Linked DNA regions of Homo sapiens: region 1 is linked to region 2. The links are contacts of gene promoters, found by promoter capture Hi-C in blood cells and fetal thymus (Javierre and others, 2016). All regions are on one chromosome and are shown on one strand. The core of a region is centred on a gene start or on the middle of the fragment in contact, and the rest is flanking DNA. Distances in the headings are between cores, read along the strand shown. Region 1 overlaps DAPK2 (death associated protein kinase 2). Region 2 holds the start of HERC1 (HECT and RLD domain containing E3 ubiquitin protein ligase family member 1).

The links. Contacts are between HindIII fragments. The CHiCAGO score rates a contact against its expected background, and 5 or more counts as called.
Region 1: a fragment that was not itself captured here is called in contact with the fragment with the promoter of HERC1 in region 2 in 5 of 17 cell types (naive B cells, megakaryocytes, erythroblasts and 2 more); the score reaches 6.4 in naive B cells.

What each region holds. Positions count from the first base shown.
Region 1 is chr15:63,981,965-63,988,584 of GRCh38, forward strand. It overlaps DAPK2 (death associated protein kinase 2), which reads right to left. Exons shown (of 12, transcript NM_014326.5): 3 at 1,569-1,790. Among named protein-coding and RNA genes, the nearest start is that of DAPK2, 61 kb to the right of the region's middle. RefSeq lists an enhancer at 3,476-3,977. The HindIII fragment of the contact is 2,080 bases long and covers 3,641-5,720 here.
Region 2 is chr15:63,829,663-63,836,092 of GRCh38, forward strand. It overlaps HERC1 (HECT and RLD domain containing E3 ubiquitin protein ligase family member 1), which reads right to left and starts at 4,286. Exons shown (of 78, transcript NM_003922.4): 1 at 4,165-4,286. RefSeq lists enhancers at 3,442-4,307, 4,308-5,171, 4,345-4,474 and a silencer at 3,675-4,104. The HindIII fragment of the contact is 17,710 bases long and covers 1-6,430 here.

The DNA.
Region 1 (6,620 bases), core at 3,431-5,930, 150 kb after region 2:
GCCAATACCAGAGCATAGTTCTCAAATTAGAATGATCTCAAATGTCAGGTGGTCCACCGAGTCTGTAGGCAGGTTAAGGATGGCTGCCTGCTTTACAGATGAGAACTAAAGCTCAGGGAATTGAGGTGACTTGCCCAAGGGCACAAAATCAGGGATTCCTGAGAGATTCTATCACTCCCGCTACCAGGCAGGTGTATACATGCTTATGAGCCTCAGAATATTCTTTTTTTTTTTTTTTTTTTTTCCGAGATGGAGTCTTGCTGTCACCCAGGCTGGAGTGCAGTGATGCAATCTCGGCTTACTGCAACCTCCGCCTCCCGGGTTCAAGCAATTCTACTGCTTCAGCCTCCCGAGTAGCTGGGATTACAGACACCTGCCACCACACCCGGCTAATTTTTGTATTTTCAGTAGAGATGGGGTTTCACCATGTTAGCCAGGCTGGTCTCAAACTCCGACCTTGTGATCTGCCCGCCTTGGCCTCCCAAAGTGCTAGGATTACAGGCATGAGCCACTGCACCAGGCCAGAACATTCTTTATATAGTCCTTGCTGCTTGACTGGACACAGCCACTGTAACTTGTCCACAACCCAACTCAAACTCTATTGTTTATCAGAGCCCCACCTGCCCAGGACGATACCAGCGTGGCTAGCCAAACCCTAGAGTATTGAGGTCATCTATCCAAATTCCATCATGAACTGTGAGGTCTTCCTCTGCTAAGCCAGCATAAGGCCAACCCGCCTCACACTCATAGCTGTCTGCACAGGCCGTGTGGACTCAAGTCCTGGTCCTGCCACTTCCTGGCTATAGGCTCCTGTAAGTGTCCTGGCCTCTCAGTGTTCTTGTCTGTAAAATGGGGATAATAAGAGTGTCTGTGTGACAGCGTTGTTATGAGGATTAAATAAGGTACAGAAGTACTTGGCTTGCACAATGAATACAAAATAACCTGTCTGCACTAGTAAGACATTTCCCTCATCACAGTCTTTAAAGATTGAACAAGACGACAGATAGAAAGCGCCTAGCAAATTCTTGGCTTACAGTAGGACTCTCTAAATAATAGCTATTATTATAACAATAAAGGTGTCATTCACAGCACAAATGCAGTGGACTTTCCCCAGGAAAGGGCTGGAGAAGGGCTTCGCAGAGCCCAGAGATGTTTGTACTTCCCCTCCTCATAGTACACAGCCCTCGCTGACAGCCTCCCCTGGCCCCACCCCACCATCTGTCCCACTCACCCTCCCACATGCTTCTCCAGCCAGGAAAAGACCCCAGTGCAGTCATTTCTTCCCTTTGATCTCCAGGATCCAGTGAAAGCCAGACTTAGGCCATTGCCCTCTGCCCCTGCTATTCAGCAAGCTTGCCCCTCCTTTGGCTCAGTTTCAGGAGGAGGAAGCGGGTAAGGAGGAAGGGGGTAACTGAGACAGAGGGGATCTGCCCACCACTGACTTCACCTCCTCTGGGCTGAGCTTAGGCCTGGTTGCTGCTGCCCCCTGGGGCCTGTGGCTGGAGTTTCCACTGCTCTGCCTGCCCCTGCTGCCCCCCAACCCTGTGGGTCCTGGGGACCCCACTCACAGCTCAAGGATGAGCACCACGTCGGTGCGGTTCTCATAGACGTCGTGCAGCGTGATGACATTGTGGTGCAGCACCTGCCGCAGGATGCTCACCTCCCGCTCGATCTCCTCCCGGCTCACACCGCGCCGGCTCGCCCGGCTCTGCCGCTTCTTGATGAACTTGGCTGCATACTCAAGCCCCGTGCTCTTCTCCCGGCACTTCTTCACGATGGCAAACTGGCCACTGTGGGGACACAGACCCACAAGATTAGGTCATCACTGTGGTCATTGGGGAAATGACCCCACTGTCAGCTACCAGGTCACACAAATTCAGAGTGATTCTGCCAGGACAGGACAAATCATGCCACCAGTCTGCATCCCCACCTGATGACAACCTGTGGATGAGATGGGGCAGGGACTGGGCTTCCCTTCTGTCCATTCCTTCTATGAGGAATGAATGTTAGTATTCTTAGTCCCAGTGTACAGAGGTGAGCACTGAGGCCCAGAAAGGTTATTGATCAGGATGACATAGCCTTGTCATTGCAAAATCTCAGCTAGAACCCAAGTCTAGGACCCACCAGATGAAATCACAATGTCCATAAGCAGACTGGGCTGGTGGGGATCCAGGTTTGGGTAGAGTTTGGAGAGGAGGCAGCCTAACAAGGTTAATCATCATAGTGGGGGAGCATCACAGTCAGAGGACTTGGTATAAACAGAGAGTTGTACAATTAGGAAACTGAGGCATAAGGATAGGTCATGTGACTCGCCTGAGGTCATCGCAGAGTTAATGGCAAAGCCAAGCCTCAAAGTCAGATACCCAACCGGCTGTCCACAAAGCCTCTGAGATAGTTAGAGCAGTCTAGACCATTATTATTCCCCTTCAGGCACTAGTACCCAGGGCTGGGCTCAGAAACCCATTACTCCAGGGACAGAGACAGCAAGCATGAAATGGAGTCCATGGCAGAGTGGCAGGCAGCCCTGAGCCAGCTTCCCTGAGTGCTCCAGGGGCCCTCCCCACAGGGAAGGGCACCAACCACCTGCTTCTGCACCTCAGTTCAGTGACCAGCAGGAGCAGATCTAAGTCCTCAGAGACTTCCCAGTGACCATCTTGCCCGGGGGTCCTCCCGTCCCCTTACTGCCATTTGCCATCATTGCCCCATGTTTTCTTGCCACCCAAAATACCCACTGCTTGAGTAACTCAGAAAGTTTTCTGGTTCAGCTTAATGGCTCAATAAGGGGCCAGCAGACTCCAGACTTAAGAGGTACACTCTTAGTGGCTCTGGGTTAAAAGCTACATACAGGGAAATGCCTGGGATATTTGCCCCAAATGCAGAAAATAGCAAAATAGCACTGCATCTGAACCACTCCATCATTAGCATCATCCTCAGTGAGACAGTCTTCAAAATACCCGGAGTGGCAATAACAACAACAAAGTCAAGTTCAGCAAGCAACAGATACATAGGCCAACACTTAGGTAGCATTCTATGGCAGCCACTTCAGAGACGTTCCCAAACACAAACTCATGCATCTCTCCATTGCCTTAATCTCCATTCAATCAACACTGTCTGGGCATCCAGTCTGTGCCAGGATCTGTGCTAGGCACTACGGGGCAGGGACCAAAGGCACAGACAACAGGTACAGATGGAGCTCTAGGGAAAGAGAAGATCCTGGGGGCTGGACTGGGCAGAGAAGGCTTTGTGGAGCCAAATTTATCTTACATCGTCCACTGACTCTAAATTTTTAGCTATTTCAGTTCCAAATATTGGCTCTGAGCTGTGCACACACTAAGGGCTGACGCAGGTGGAGTGGAGCCAGGCCTCCCAGAGCCAGAGTGAACACATTCAGTGTGAACTCTAACACATATGGTCTCTTGGAGCCACTCTGGGCCTCGAGGACAGCGGGTGCCTTGGTAGGTGCCAACAAACACTTGACCGAGCTTCCAGGCCCGGGTGGCTCTGAGTCTCAGTGTCAAGGCAGCCACACGCCTCTCCTCTCCGACACCTCAAGCAGCCGCTGGCAGGGCCTGGCATTTCAGAGTCCCTGTGACCTTGTCACAGAAGCCCTGAGTTCCTACTTGACCTGTGGGGAAAGCAAAGCTTAAGGGTGGTAAGGGATACACTTAGGTTTACAGAGCACATAGGCAGTGGCGCAGGGCTTGGCTTGGCATCCAAATCCCCCAGCTCCCAGCCCTGCACTGTGTTGACAGCCTTAGGACTTGTGAAACGGCAGAAGGGCTTTTGTAAACTAGAGCTAAACATTTCAGGCCATGTTGACGTTGTTTCCCCTTCCTCTTATGAGGGAAACAGTGGCATTTTTTTTCTATATCACATGCCTGAAAAATTCCTCAAACTCTCAAAAAGCAAATGAGTGTTTGCTTTTCCTGCCTGAGTTTTCTCTTTGCGAGACAGCTGTGGCAATGAGTGGTGACCGGGGCAGGCCCACTGCACAGGCATCTTTCCCTCCCCAAAAGGAGGTATTTTGAGAGTGGGTGACTACGATGGCGCCAAATACCACACACCACCACTCGTCTCACCTGTCTTCACTCAGGCACAGCCCTCTGCTCAACCTGTAGAGGGGAGCCTCAGAGGGAGCCAAGGCTGCTGGCTGGTGTCCCCCACTCCTTGGGCTGTTTCCAGAAGAGCAGAGAACACCCTCCACCAGACCCAGCCCCCAGGCTTCAAGATCAGACAGGCCTGGCCTCAGAGACTTATGCTTTCACCTGCTCTGAACATAGATTTGCTCATCTGTCAAATGGGAATCAGGGTTCCCTGCTAGAGAATTGTGAAGACTGGAAATATTTGTAATGTTGGCCCGTGGTACTCAAAAGTGGTTCATGTGAAGGCTGAGCAAGAGACATCCAGAGACATAAGTCACTGATTCAAATGGTCTGGAATGTGAAACCAAGGAATTGGTTTAATTTTATTTATTTTTAGAGATGGGGTCTGGCTCTGCTGCCCCGGCTGGAGGGCAGTGGTGTGATCATAACTCACTGCAGCCTCAAACTCCTGGGCTCAAGCAATCCTCCCAACCTCAGCCTCCCGAGTAGCTGGGACCACAGGTGCCTGCCACACCACCCAGCTTCAGTTTAATTTTAAAAGCACCACCCTACCCCGCCAATGATTCCCACGCACAGCCAGATGTGAAAATAGCTCTATTCCGAGCAAGTAGCCAACTCTTTAAATCCTAGAGCAGTGGTTCTCAACCCAGGCCACACATTGATATTGCCTGGGGAATTTTAAAACTCCTAGTGTTTAAGTCTCACCCTGAGAGATTCTGATCTCCTGGGTCTGGGCCTGAAGATGGGGCTATTTAAAAGCCCGCTGGGTAACTGACATGCAGCCAGGGCTGACTTACAACAGCTTTCTGATTATCTCCATTTCACAAATGAAGAAACTATACCACTGTTACTCATACTAGTTCCTCATTTTCAGTATTACACTTCCCCATAGTTCTCTGATCTGATCATTTCAGGAAAGGAGTAAAGAAAGGGAATCAGAGGGGAGGGGTTGTCTCTCCCATCAGCATGATTTTTGCTTGAGGGGTTCACCAGTCTAACTGCTGTGTTATGAATATGCAAATCAAGGCAGAAGATTACTCTAGCTTTCGGAGGATAACAGGAGTGAAAATTTGCAGTCAGGCACTCCCTGGCCACTGTACTCAGCAGATGCACAAAAGCAGAACCTGAGGTGGCTCTAGTATGCCCATCAGAGGGCCCAGCCAACCCAAGGGCAGGTGACAGCAACAGGCCTTTTTCTGCACACAGAAGGCTCTGCAGCCAGAAGTTGAGGTCCCACAGTGCAGAAGTCGCCAGCTAGGCTACAGGGATGATGGGTGGGAGGCGAGGGTCTGTCTACTTTAGGACAGAGCCACCCAGAATGTCATCCAGGGAGGGAGCAGAAGGGAGCAATTCAACCTCTAATGAAAGTCATTGCTAACACTAAATCAAAAATGATGGGAATACTGGAATCTGGTATACATATGCAAAGCACACATATTCCAGTATCTCTGCCCCCCATAGCAACAATCAATACCTATGCATGGTCTACTGCAGCACGGGGCTGGTAGGAGGCCCGATTCCTCGTCCTAATCTGCTATCAAAGTTTCATGGGCTTGACAGGGAGCTGCCTTTTCAGTTCATGTTTCTCCATCTGCCATCCCAGGTCTCATCTTAGAAAGCTTCCTGTCAGACAGCTCCAAAGAGCCTGGGACAACTCTAAACAGGAATGAAGCCCTTTCTCTTCACTCTCCAAATTCCTAACTCTGGGCTGGTGTCAGGAGACTGGGAGTCTAGTCAGAGCCCTACCACTAACGAGCCAGGACCCTGGGCAGCCTGTTCAACTCCCCAGGCCTCAGTTTCCTTCTTTGTCACATGGGGATGATAATACCTGCCCTGCCCACTTCCCAGGGTTGTTTGGGAAATCATGAGGTAATGTCTGAGATAGGACTTTACCATCCAGCCTTGCAGAAGAGCATGAGGTGTGGGTGGGTGGGAACTCTGTGCCTGAGACTGGCTTGCAAAAGTCACGTAGGATGGTTTCGTGAGGGACAGTAAATCCTCAAGATACAGAAAACACCCCGCTTCTGCCAGCACACTCTCCTGCAATTCTGTCAGGAACACACCCCTCTTCCCAGGCAGAGGACTCAGCTCCTCACTCACTCAGCACCTGGGAGGACAAGTGGGCTGTGTCAAGATCAGTGTCACTGGCAGATGGGCCTCATTTCCAAACTTGTCAGGCCCCCAGGTGCCACCTCATAAGGGCTCTCTAGTTGTCTGCCCAGGACTCACATTAAAAGGGGTATACCTAGAACAGCTTCTCAGTGCTCAGAAATGTCCCCAACCTCAGCTCTTAAGGTTCATGGAGGAGCCTGGCTTAATCCCCACCCCCCAAAGTCTTCACTGTCAAGGGTAAATAAACAGGGCATGAACCAAATGTCACACCACGGGATCAATTTTGTATAGCAATGTGAACATTACAACATTTACATCCAGCTTTTCCTTTTTTTTTTTTTTTGAGCTGGAGTCTCGCTCTGTTGCCCAGGATGGAGTACGGTGGCGCAATCTCGGCTCACTGCA
Region 2 (6,430 bases), core at 3,036-5,535:
CCGAGTATACAGATTTTGATTTTAAATACTATTCTCCAATAAAAGAAACCAGAGCTCCTTGGAGAAGTAGTCGACTCCAGGACTGGTGCAAGGAAAAATAAGATGAGCATGGAACAGCCTGTGGCCCCAGAATATAAGAAAGTGCTTGAAAAAGGGTAGAGGCCAACCTGAAAGAGCTTCCAATGGCCAAAGCTGGAACAATTTGAACAACAAAATAAATAATGATAGTATTGGATTATAATCCATAGAAAATAGAGATCCCATAAGAACACACTAATATAAACAAATAATTGAATAAATAAGTGAGGGAAAGGGGACATCTCTCCCTTAAAGAATTCCAATTAATAAATGCAGAAGGAATGAGGGAAATACAAAATCATGATTAGCCAAACACCACAGTAATAACTGTTGCAGACAAGATCTACCAATGGATGTTAAAAATCAATGGGAGAAAGTTTGAGGAGAAACTGTACATCCACAGTCTCAAAGTGTCTCCCCCAAGATATGTATGAACAATAAAGGGAAGAATAGTAACTTTACTGTGAAGAATACCGCTAAGGGTTCAAAGTTAAAATACCACTAGCAAAAAGACATGTCAACACCATGTACCCCCAATATGATGCATTGAGAAGGACACAACATCGCTTCTGTAGTTTTCTTGCAAAACATGCTTAACCTCAATCAAATCATGAGAAAAAACATCAGACAAACCCAAAATGAAAGAAGTTCTAAAAAATAACAGTACTCATCAAAAATGTCAAGGTCGTGAAAAACAAAAACTGAGGAACTGTCAGAGATTGGAGGAAATGAAGAAGACACAACAACTAAATGCAACGTGGGAACCTAGATTAGACCCTAGAACAAAAAAAAAGGCATTAATGGGGAAAAACCAGTGAAATTAAGTAAAATCTATAGTCAATAGAGTTACACCAATGCTAACTTCTGGTTTTGATCACTGTATTATGGTTATGTAAGTTGTTAACATTAGGGGGAGCTTGGTGAAGAGTATGTAAGAACTCTGTACTCTCTCTGTAACTTTTCTGTAAGTCTAACATTATTTCTAAATAAATCATTAAAAATAAATAAAATCCATCAACCAATCATCTGATACAACTGTCATATCTTCTTGCTCAAGGATCTCATCTGAAATTTAACAGTCCCATTAATTTAGAGAGCCCGGTAGGCAACATCAGAACAAACTAAAATCATGAAAATCGGATCTGGCATCTAGTAAGTAAACAACTACTTTATGCTCTTTTTCACTTTTTGTAGTTAAAGAAAATGCTAGCAGATGTGACCTTCCTGGCTTTGCAAACTTCTCTGTAAATGATTTGACCAACTTTTTATGTTTTCAACATCATGATAATCTGCAATACATGCTCACAACAATGTATTTCATGTGTATGTTAAGCCAAAGTTGTGTAGACCTTTGTTGTTGTTTGTTTTGTTTTATTTTGCTTTTGAGATAGAGTCTCACTGTGTCTCCCAGGCTGGAGTAGAGTGGTGCAATCACAGCTCACTGCAGCCTCAATCTCCCAGGCTCAATTGATCCTCCCATCTCAGCCTCCCTAATAGCAGGAATTGCAGGTATGCACCACCACGTCCAGCAAATTTTTGTATTTACCATAGAGACAAGGTTTCACCATGTTGCCCAGACTGATCTTAAACTCCTGGGCTCAAGCCATCCTCCCACCTCGGCCTCCCCAAGGGCTGAGATTACAGGCGTGAGCTACTGTAATCTGGCCAAAAGTTCTATTTACAATTTTTAAAAATAGCTTCAACAGATTATAGTAAGTTTGTTACTTGCTATTATATAGTTATCCAACTATAACATTCAAGTTTTGTTTCACAAGTTTCTTTTTATCCTAACACAACCTTCTCACTCTCCAAGCCACGATGTCATCATTATCATCATTTTAAGATCTGAAAATCTGAATTTTAAAAATTTTAAAAGGTCAGCTCCTTCAATATACCCAGCCCCCTTTTTTTTCTATTTCAAATATTAGGGAGTATTCAGTATGACTTTTTTGGGGGAAAACATGCTTGGAACGTTGGAATTGTTATTACTATTTATTATTTGCACCCTCTACTAACCCAATCCAGTCCAATCACCAACACATTCTCCAAAATTTCTTTAAATTGAGATTTTCAAGAGATGTTTATATTAATAAGCAGATTAAGTGACGCATTTACATTTGCTTTCTCTTCCATGCAACATCAGGGTGCCTGCATTGGAAATGGAATACATGACCAGCAAATGAATGGATGTGTCACATGCAAACAGCATGACTGGAAATTTAAGAAGCAAAATGATAAGAACCTTAGGGAACGCAAAATTCATAAAAGTTTAGAATTACAAGAGGCCTTAATAGGCCATTTAATCCATTCCAATAACAACAACCCCAGATGACAATCTATCCTATTTTTAAAAGGCTCCAGATTTCCAACCTCCCTAGATATCTCATTCTGCCATACAACCTTGTCATGTGATTTGGGGGAAATATTATGACTGTTCTTTGCCCTTCCTAATGCTATCTTTTCTCAAATAATATAGCAATACATCTTAACTCACTTCCAAGATATATAAATGTGTATAGGTGCAGAATACGTGTGTGTGTGTGTGTGTCTCTATACATATATACGTACATTTATGCATAAGACAGGCACCTAGGACATTCAATTTTGCTTGTATAAACGCAGGCTATGGAAACACATATATCAAAGAGACATACTCATCCCACACTAATCACAACAGGCACTATGAAACAATGTCACAGAACAATTTTGGTCTAAAAATATCCAGTAGAAATCAATTTCATAAAACCTGAGGTAAATAGGTTTCTTCCCACTATGAATAATCATAGTTTCTTTCCCTTCTACAAATACTGCCCCATTTTGAGCAACCACCACTAACAGAATTGTAAAAATATAATATATACATAGGTACTAGACCCAAACAGACAATGTTTTAACGTTTGATTTTTCAAACCACTTAGCTAACAATCATTTTGGAAAAGGGCCCAGTGAAAAAGATAGTGATGGCAGAGTTCAGCCAGTGATAATGAACTAGCAGCCAGTTTTAATCAAGCAGGCCAGAGAACTGATTCAAATAAAATAAATCATTTTTGGAACAAATATAGAATGAGGAAGTCCCAAGCAAGGATAAAAAAAAATGTGTCTGTTAGGAAATACAATAAAATGTTAACCATGAAATGCCACCTCTGGAGATGGAATTACAAAGATGGGTTAGTTTGTTCAGATTTGTTATTCCCATCATTTAATTATCTCTATATTCTAAGTATTATAGACATTTCTTAAACTAAGACAAATCTGTCCCTGTGTTTCACAGCTCTCTAAGATAACATGTCTTTTACATAACCTCCTGGGAGAGGTGGTACAAGCTCCTGTCCTCCTCGTGTCTCCCAGTAACCTGCCACCCATCACAGAACAGATTTCACCATGTTCCCCGGGGTAGCTCCTGTCATCACCATCATCATCCTCATCTCACGCTTAAGACTAAACAATGCGCCCCGCCTCGCCTCCCGGTTGCAAAGGCTTTATAATTTGTTGTTTTATTGGGGCGGGAGATTTGGAGAAAGGTTTAGCAGATGATGAGCTGCCCTCACCCAAAGGCAGAGGAGAGGAGGAAGACACGTCGTCCCAGCCTCCACCCCGCTAAAGGCGGCCGGCGCCTGGGGACACCGGGGTCGCGGCACTCCCCGGACCCTGAGAGGGAGTCGGCCGCCGCCCGCGGACCGAGCCCCAGCCGGGGCAGAGGAGCTGGTCAGCAGATAAAGGAATGAAGCAGAAAGAGACGCGACCACAGCGGGGCCGGGGCACAGACGTTGTAAGCCGCTGGAGGGGCGGGTCTCTCGGCCCTCTCCGCGGGCGCCTCGGCTTCTACGCTGCTCCGAGGCGCCCGGGCGGCAGGAGGCCTCTAGAGCCGGGGACCCGGGGGATCCGCGGCGCGCCAGGAGGGCTCCCCCAGCTCGCCTGCCGCCCACCCGGGACCCCAGCAGCCCCGCTCGGCTGCAGTCCCGAAACGGCCCCGGCCGGCCCTGCGCGGCCGGCAAAGCACACACGCGCGCGCGCACACACACACACACACACACACACACACACACACACAGGACCAGGAGGACGGTAGATGATGCGTTACCGTACGTGGCTCTGGAGCTGGCGGGGTGGGGCGCGGCTCCGGCGACCCGAGCCCGGCTCCGCAGAGGCTGCGGCGGTCGCGTCCTTTATTTTTGCTGCAGCAGCAGCGACTTGTCAAAGGGAAAGACGTAAGAGGCGGCGGCAGCAGCGGCGGCGTCAGGCGAGTCTCACGAGATTTGGGCGGAACTCTCGCGCAGCCGGGAGCCCTCGCCCCGCCCAACAGGCCCAGCGCGGGAGGTGAAAGGGGAACCGAGAGGAAGGCGGCTGAGGTGGAGTTGGGGGTTGAGCGAAAAGGGGAAAGGGATTTGGGAGCGAGGGGAGCCAAGCTAGGTGCTGGGGACACTTTGCTACCGCGCGGCCCTCACCCTTCAGCCGTCGCGGAATCCGGGCAGCCCCGACCGCCTGCGGGGACCTGACTCCACAGATGAAGCACAATTGGGGGCGTTTCACAAAGGGTGGTGAGGAGTGGGGGGCCATGCAGTGCGCCCCCTTTTCCTCGTGGTGGGCAGGGAAGACCCCGCCGCCAGGCGAAGGGACACGTGTTACGGCCGGCGGCAGGGCCAGGGCCTCACCCCTTTATCTCCGCCTCGCACCCGGCGCCCCACGCTCTTTATCTCTCATCGCAGCGGCCCCGGCCCTCCGGCCGGCTAAGTTCAATCACATAAAAGCGTTTCACTTGACCTACTCTTCCACCTTGTTCATGTCTTTGCGCCTTATGGGACTGCCAGAACCCTGCAGATGCCAGGGCCTGGCTCCTCGGTTTTCTTTTCTGCTTGGGAACACAGTAGTGTCCTTTGGGTGACTTACATCCTTGATCATGACCTCGACCTCCACGTGAAACCCCATGAGGGGAAGGACACAGACTGGCTCAGTCCTCACCATATCTCCAGCGCCTAACATAGGTCCAAGTGGACATTAAATTGTTGAGTGAATACCCCATCTCCATCTTCCTCCTTCTGTACCTGGTTTTACTCCTTTCCAGCCACCTTCATGGTGTCTTTCCTTCCAGATATTCTAACGAGCATCAATTAAACTGACCGATGACTTGGGGACAAAAAATAGAGTTGGCCTCTGCGTTCCAGAAGTTTGCAATCCAATTGGAGGCGTAGGAGAAGCACACAAACATACAAGCCATGAATGTGTCACTAATGTAAGAAATTACGGTATAGACAGACGAGGGAGTGCTTTCCCATGGTTAAATTAGATACATGTTTGTGTGTCACATGAGGCAGTTTAGTCCAAGAGTTAGGAGCCATGTGCTTCACTGTCAGACACTGGTGGGAATTCTGGAATCCCACTTACCCCAGGTGTGTGACCTTGGGCAAGTTGCTTGACCTCTCTGAACCTCAGTTCCTTATGTGTCAATTTATAATGCCAGTTCTTGTTATCACAAGGTTCCTCTGAGGAGTAAAATATATGTAAAGCTCACATACGGCACATATTAAGTACTCATTAAATGATGGGTCTTAGGTGTGTAGCTTTTAAGTTTCTATGTATAAAATGTGTATTTCTGGTAAATGATGTAAGGGAGTAGCTACATGAGGAGTGATGTCATTGTTGCTAGTGCTTTATGATCTGGGTATTGTGTGTGAAGCATACTCAAAAACAACAAGCAAAAGCTCCTCCTTTTAACTTGTTGATGTCATCTACGTCACTCACAAATATGATATTCTGTCTTTCTTGAATTTGTAAAATTGTACTGGTTTTGCCCACTTTTTCTTTTTCTTTTTTTTGAGATGGAGTTTTGCTCTTGTTGCCCAGGCTAGAGTGCAATGGCACCATCTTGGCTCACTGCAACCTCCGCCTCCCAGGTTTAAGCGATTCTCCTGCCTCAGCCTCCCAAGTAGGTGGGATTACAGGTGTGTGCCACCATGCCTGGCTAATTTTTGTATTTTTAGTAGAGATGGGGTTCCACCATATTGGCCAGGCTGGTCTCGAACTCCTGACCTTGTGATCCGACCGCCTTGGCCTCCCAAAGTGCTGGGATTACAGGGGTGAGCCACCGTGCCCAGCCTGGTTTTGCCCATTCTATTTCAAGAAAAGGACTGCTTACTTTAAAGACCAATCAAGAGACTCCCTCTTTTACCATCTCCTTAGCTTCCACCCTCAGAGCTGTGTGTAAAAGAGAATTGAATACAACTGTGTTCAGTTGCATACAATTAGCAAATACTGTTAGTGTCAGCAAGTGAGCCCTGACTACTAGCCACCCTCACCTTGACCACACCACTCTTTCCCAAAACACTGTTTTTTTCTTTCTTTCTTTTTTCTTTTT